Regions from separate parts of the Homo sapiens genome. Here region 2 is linked to region 1. Evidence: promoter capture Hi-C in human tissues and cell types (Jung and others, 2019). All regions are on one chromosome and are shown on one strand. Each heading gives the region's core, a stretch centred on a gene start or on the middle of the fragment in contact. The rest is flanking DNA. Distances are from core to core; before and after follow the strand shown.

What was found. Contacts are between HindIII fragments. The study calls those that stand out against the background at their distance.
Region 2: a contact is called between a fragment that was not itself captured here and the fragment with the promoter of DDX43 in region 1, in 1 of the 25 tissues and cell types used here (aorta).

The regions. Positions count from the first base shown.
Region 1 is chr6:73,393,196-73,396,880 of GRCh38, reverse strand. DDX43 (DEAD-box helicase 43) reads right to left here and starts at 2,053. Exons shown (of 17, transcript NM_018665.3): 1 at 1,726-2,053. The coding sequence starts at 1,975. It overlaps LOC124901538 (small nucleolar RNA U13), which reads left to right and starts at 2,868; the gene lies at 2,868-2,968. It also overlaps a transcript of OOEP not described here. RefSeq lists an enhancer at 1,936-2,436. The HindIII fragment of the contact is 17,001 bases long and covers 1-3,685 here.
Region 2 is chr6:73,644,951-73,648,635 of GRCh38, reverse strand. All of the region lies in intron 1 of SLC17A5 (solute carrier family 17 member 5), which reads left to right. Among named protein-coding and RNA genes, the nearest start is that of SLC17A5, 7.2 kb to the left of the region's middle. The HindIII fragment of the contact is 4,203 bases long and covers 1-3,685 here.

The sequences.
Region 1 (3,685 bases), core at 804-3,303:
CAAAATGGGTAAGCCTGGAGGATATTATTCTTAGAGAAATGAGCCAATTACAAAGACAATTACTGCATGATTCTACTTATATGGATTACCTAAAGTAATCTAACTCAGAAACAATGTAAATGGTGGGTCCCTGGGATGGGGCAGGAAAAAATGGGGAGCTGTTCAATGAGTATACAGTTTTAGTCATGCAAGTTCCAGAGATCTGGGATACAACATTGTGCTTATTATTAGTATTGTGATATACGTTTAAAAGAGGGTATTTCATTTTTTACAATAAAAAAGATGGATCCAGATCCAACATCAAGTGAGTGCTCTGTAGCACAGTGCCCTTTCATCTGCTAAGTATTAACTTAAGTGATTTTTATTGCAAACCTAGTGGCTTTCTTTCTTGGAGCATCATTCTTCAGATCTGAGCCCAAGCCTTCTGAAAGGCCAATGAGTCTCTGGGTAGTACAGCAATTAGTCTTACAATGCACTATTTTGTAGCAGCCTCCATCTATTCATTTTTCTCAGGTTTTAAAAAGGGTGAAATACACCTAATAGGTAAAATGTGGCAATTTATACTCGGGCTTAATGGCAATCAATGGGGTAATCATTCTAATCATTTTTAAATGCTTTTCAAAAAAATTCAGAAATGGGCCGGGCTTACGCCTGTAATCTCAGCACTTTGGGAGGCCGAGGTGGGTGGATCCACAGGAGTTCGAGACCATCCTGGGTAATATGGTGAAACCTCATCTTTACTAAAAACACAAAAATTAGCCAGGTGTGGTGGCGCACGTAATTTCAGCTACTAGGGAGGCTGAGGTGCTAGAATCGCTTGAGCCCGGGAGGTGGAAGTTGTAGTGAGCCGAGATCACGCCACACTGCACTCCAGCTGGGGCCACAGAGCTGCCTCAAAAAAAAAAAAAATCAAAAGAAAGAAAAAAATTAAAAATTCAGAATTGAATGTTAACACTCAAGATGTAGTAAGAAAAGTTTTTAACTTTTTAAAAATTAAGGAAACTAAAAGCAAGATACAACTGCTCTAGGCAGCCCTACAATGACCTTATAGCTTTTCTTTGATTTCTGGCTCTAAATGGTACTCATAGAAAGACTGATTAAGTTTTGTTTTTCATTCTGGGGTTAGCTGTCTGTTAAAAGGCCTGTTCTAAGCATCCCTCTTCAGCCCTAAGATTTCATAAGTCTTCTAGGAGTTGCTCTCCCAAATACATTGTCTGTATAAACACCAAAAGGTGGATTAAATTACTTTTTTTTTTTTTTTTTAATTGAGACGGAGTCTTGCTCTGTCACCTAGGCTGGAGTGCAGTGGCGCGATCTCAGCTCACTGCCAACTTCTGCCGCCGGGTTCAAGCCATTCTCCTGCCTCAGCCTCCGGAGTATCTGGGATTACAGGCGCGCGCCACCACGCCCAGCTATTTTTTTTAATATATATATTTTTAGTAGAGACAGGGTTTTGCCATGTTGGCCAAGCTGGTCTCGAATTCCTGACCTGGGGTGATCCGCCCGCCTCGGCCTCCCAAAATACTGGGATTACAGGCGTGAGCCAACGCGCCCGGCCAGATTAAATTATACTCTATCCCCAGGTTTTACAAATAGCTCTGGGAGAGACCTGAACCTCACTAGGTGGCAGCTGATTGGAGGTGAGGCAGTGGGGAGGAAATGCCTTCGCCCAGGCTCCGCCCCTGGCCCCACCTATCCTGCCCTGCCAGCCACTCCCATTCTCACCGATTACCGCGCCAACAAAGTGGCTCTTCAAAGCAAAACACAGCGGCAGTTCCTCGTGACCAGCGGCCACGGCCTCCGGGGGCCTAGAGGTGCCTCTCCAGCGACCACCTCTGCCGACACTATATCCCTCAGGACCTGTTCGATTCAACTCCTCCGCCGGCCTCCTCTCTGGCGCTCGGGACACTGTCGAGCTTCGCCGACTAGCAACGACCCACGTAGAGGCCTTGGGAGCTCCTCCGTGGTGGGACATTGTTCCAAGAAGGGGCGCGTCCGACGTCGTTGCCGTCCAGCTCTGCACCACCTGACCGTGACGTCGTAAGAGTAGCGTGCCAGGGAAGCCACGCAGCCGCTACTTAAGGAGCCCGCACGAGGCTAGCCCCCCCGCCCACGCTCTCTATCCCGCCCACTTCGCACTGATTTCACGCAGCCATTGGCCAGTGAGCGTTGTGGGCGGGACTTTCCCAGTTTTAGCCAATCGGTTTTCTGAACCGTGGGAGTGTGCCTTGAAGTAGTCGATGTGCCCCGCCCCCCACCCCCCCACTGTGTATTCCTTTCCAGGCGTGGGACTTTTTCCAAACGCCCAATTTGCTCCCTCCCCTACTGGACACACACCTCGGGTTCCTGGCATCTCAGTGCCTTGGAAACTTTTTTTTTTCTTTTTAAATAGAGACGGGGTGTCGCCGTGTTGCCCAGGCAGGTCTTGAACTCTTGGCTTCTGGCTTCAAGTGATCTTCCAGCCTCGGCCTCCCAAAGTGCTGGGATTACAGTCAGCCACTGCACCGGAAATGTTTTCAACCGTGACCCATAAAGGTAAGTCACTGTTACAAGGTGACCCAATCCACACATAAAAAACTTGAAACAACAGATTGACAAAACAGCATTTATCCTCGCTATGTAAGCTGCATTTTGATACATTTACGCTTATTTTAGTTTTTGAAATGGTTGTAATCCACAAAATTAAAAAAAAAAAATTTAATAGAGATGGGAGTTCCCAGTATGTTGCCCAAGGCTGGTCTTGAACTCCTGGACTCAAGTGATCCTCCCACCTCCACCTCCCATAGTGCTGGGGTTACAGGCCTGAGCCACTGCACTCGGCTCACAAAATGTATTTAATGGCCCACAGCTTAAAGATCACTGACTTGATCCTTTTGTAAGTCATAAGTGTGATTGGGTTTTCATGCTCTTGTGTCAAATGTGCCTCCCTCAAACCTTGTTACGAAGTGGGCACACTACCCACCTGATGTGAAAAATGAAGAGAAAAAGATCACTGGCTTGAGAGACATTCATTGCTCTACACAGTCTTCTGGATGTTTGCTATGTTTTTTTTGTTTGTTTTCTTTTGTTTTGTTTTTGACCTCTGTCGCCTAGGCTGGAGTGCAGTGGTGCGATCACTCACTGCAGATTCGACCTGTTGGACTCAAGTGATACTCCCACCACAGCCTCCCGAATAGTTGGGACTACAGGTGTGCACCACCATGCCAGGCTAATTATTTTGTAAAGACAAGACCTCCCTATGTTGCCCGGGCTGGTATCCAACTCCTCCTGCCTTGGCCTCACACAGTTGAGGGATTACAGGTATGAGCCACAGTGCCTGGCCTGCCATAATTTTAGAGCTAAGGAAATAAATTGAATAGATTCCTGAAGCATTACCGTCACTGCAGCCTGGCTCTGTGGCTGGACATACTACTACTCCAGGGCTTCAAGCCAGCTGCAAGTGCACTCCTTTGATTAGGATCTTTGAATTATCTGAACAAATTTCAGTTTAGGCCAGCAGGGATAACTCATACCTGTAATCTCAACACTTTAGGAGGCCTAGGCGGAGGATCTCTTGAGCCCCAAGGTTCAACATCAGTCTGGGTAACATAGTGAGACCCTGCCGGGTGTGGTGGTACAGGCTGTAGTCCCAGCTACTCAGGAGGCTGAGGTGGGAGGATCACTGAGCCAGGGAGGTTGAGGCTAC
Region 2 (3,685 bases), core at 589-3,088, 250 kb before region 1:
TTTTTACTAAGTGCCTGCTATAATGTCTTGCAGTATTTCATTTAATCCCCATGCAGCCCAGTGGGTAGATGGTGGTCTCTACATATTATAGCTAAGAAACCTGAGAATGAAAACTAGTAAGTAATTTCTACAAAAGCACACAGCCAGTGAAAAATCAGAAACAGATTCATTCCCAGGTCCCACTCTAAATTAGCCTGTGTACTTTCAGTTACACCCACACACATTCCTAAGTTTAAAACACATTTTAGAAGCTGATGTTTGTTTTTGATGGGTGCCATGTTCCTTATGCAAGCATGATTTTGCTTTGAACTTGATGCTCAATGGATGTTCTCTCTCTTGGTCATGCAAGCATGCTTTTGTTGGATCAATTTCAAAGAATATTCACATTCCCAGGCATGTTTTTCTTTACTGCTATACCTTCTTGAAATAAAAATTTTCTGATTGAATATATTTGTAATCAGCAACCATTTTATTAGCTAGTAATTGTTTATTTTTAATATTTCTTAGAATCTCATAGTAATATACTTTGTGACACCTGAGTTGGCTTTTTATTTTCTTTTTTTTTTGAGACGAAGTCTCGCTCTTGTCCCCCAGGCTGGAGTGCGATGGCGTGATCTCGGCTCACTGCAACCTCCACCTCCCAGGTTCAAGCGAGTCTCCTGCCTCAACCTCCCGAGTAGCTGGGATTACAAGTGCCTGCCACCACGCCCGGCTAATTTTTGTATTTTTAGTAGAGACGGGGTTTCACCTTGTTGGCCAGGCTGGTCTACAAACTCCTGACCTCAGGTGATCCACCCGCTTCGTCCTCCCAAAGTGCTGGGATTACAGGCGTGAGCCACCGTGCCTGGCCGCTTTTTATTTTCTAATTACTGACTATGCATCCAAAAGTTAAAGTTGCCTGATCTATAACTTGTAGGTCAGATTTCCAAGTAATACCACGAGTAATTTGAAATCATTTTACTTACCTTTCTTTCATTTCTCAACATTCTAGCCCCTTGTAATTCACATGATAAGGTATATCATAGTCCCAATAAAGCATCACTTAGGGAAAACTAATAATGTACAGTAAAATAAGATAACTGCAAATAAGGATAGAATGAAGTAATAACATTACAAATTACAGTAGCATAAAATAGAGTTTTTTAGAGTAAGAGAATTACTAATAACTTCATCCCTCCCCTTCACTTACTCCCACATCTAACATTTGGGCAAGGCCTGTTAATTCTGCCTTTAAACATCTCAGATCTGCCCATTTTTCTTCACTGCTGCTTTCACTGTAGTTTAAGCCACCTTCATCTCTTAGCTGGAAAGCTACAGTAGTCCTTTAAGTGATCTCCCTGACTGTACATTCCTTACACCCTTCACACTTCTCCTTTCTATAGTCTCCATGCAGGGTCCAGATGAGCTCTTTAAACCATCAACCAGATAAGCTTTTTAAACCATAAATCACATCTCATCACTCCTTTGCTGAAATAGGTAATGATCTTTTTAAATGCTGCATTGACAAAACAGACATAGTACATAAATCTGGGTTTTTCTTGCTCCAAATTGCTCAAAGTAACACATTTTAATGCACACATTTAGCTAGATTTTTGAGTCCCCCATCCAGACTTCTAGGTAATATCACCTGACACAGAGCAATGATAAAGAAAACATGTTCTGCTGGGCACAGTGGCTCACGTCTATAATTCCAGTGCTTTGGGAGGCTGAGATGGGAGGATTGCTTGAGGCCAAAAGTTCAAGACCAGCCTGGGCAAAATAGTGAGACCCCGACTCTACAAGTAAAAATTTAAAAATTAGTCAGATATGCTGCCATATGCCTTTAGTCCCAGCTACTCAAGAGGCTGAGGTGAGAGGATCACTTGAGTCCAGGGGTTCGAGGTTACAGAAAGTTATGATCACCCACTGTACTCCAGCTTGGGCAACAGAGCAAGACCCTGTCTCTAAAAAAAAAAAGAAAGAAAAAAGAAAATGTGTTTTTTTACAAAACATGCCTCACAATATCCAAACCGTCATTAACTGGACAACTGCCCATTTGGTTGCAGCAGAAAGCAAATTCGCCTAGATTCTAGTAATAGAGACAATGTGAATAGAACTTTAGAAATTCAGTTCTTACAGATCTGGATCTAACTATGGTAGTGGTACCATAAATTTCATAGCTGTACCCCTGAAGAAAGGATTTAAGAATGCCAAATGAAAAGTTTCCTGTTAAAAGAAGTTAATCTTACACAGGGAAAAAAAAATAATAGCAGTTGTTAAACATAGGAGGGCATACAGAAAAGTGAGTTGGATCATAATATATTAATATAAACCTAAGTATAGTTGTGCATATTCATTAATGTTTCAGTCTAAATCAGTTCATCTGAGCCAGTATCAAGACTTTTGTATTCTGTAAAATATATTCTCTCCTTTGATGCTAGGTTAATGAAAACACCAGGATTCTTAAGTAGGGGAAAAACATACACACATTTATATGATGTTGATGTGTCATTACCAAATAAAAGCACACATATTTTCATTTAATTTTAATATGTCATTGCTTAATGAAATACATGTTTATATCTTTAAAGAGGTATTTATCAGCCACTCAGAGTTTACTAAACTTAAAGATGTTCAGACTCTGGATTAGCTAATTTCTCTTTGTTACTAAGAGGTTGATTATCCTTAGTCAGCATCCTGAATCCTATCCCTCTCCAATTCTGCAACTCAATAAAAGAAGAAAAAAGAGAAACTATGCATAAGCCCACAGTTAGAGTAATAAATAGGTCAAACTCCTCCTCTCACATGATCCTTTTATTGGTTCCTCCAACCTACTCTGCATTCTTTTTTTTTTTTTTTTTTTTTTTGAGACGGAGTCTCTGTCTCTGTCGCCCAGGCTGGAGTGCAGTGGCGCGATCTCCTCTCGCTGCAAGCTCCGCCTCCCGGGTTCACGCCATTCTCCTGCCTCAGCCTCCCGAGTAGCTGGGACTACAGGCGCCCGCGACCACGCCCGGCTAATTTTTTGTATTTTTAGTAGAGACGGGGTTTCACCGAGTTAGCCAGGATGGTCTCGATCTCCTGACCTCAGGTGATCCGCCCGCCTCGGCTTCCCAAAGTGCTGGGATTACAGGCGTGAGCCACTGTGCCCGGCATCCTTTTTTTTTAATCATGGTGGTACATTCACTGATTTCCCTTTTTACTGTGAGCCCTTTACGCTTGATAACTACTGAGCAACTGTCACAGATGCTGCAACTGTCATAGGTTCTGCAAGTTTGCTTCTAGATTCTTAAATGCATTTAGTTTACGATGGCTTTAAGTATTAATCATGGCTTCTGATTCAAACCCAGCCTTTGAGGATACTCTTCGAGGTAAGAAATTTATCAAGAGAAATTTCATGCCCTACCCTTGGCAGTAAATTTTTTTTGCTATGCTACATTTAACAATGAGATGGCTACTAACTCATAATCAGTAATATATCATGTCATTGTAAGTACTCAAGTACTTATTGACCATGTTTCAGATAGTTTTTCAGAAATAGTAATGCCATTAAACCTCCTTACCTGCTTTTCTCATGCCGTATATCTTTGCCAGCTGACAAGGAGTAGGGGTTCAGTTTGAATCTGGAATAGATCTTTTTCTCAGCAAAGGTGATAAAACTACTACCTCCATGTTTTAATGAACTTTTTTATAGTTCAGGCTCTCATGT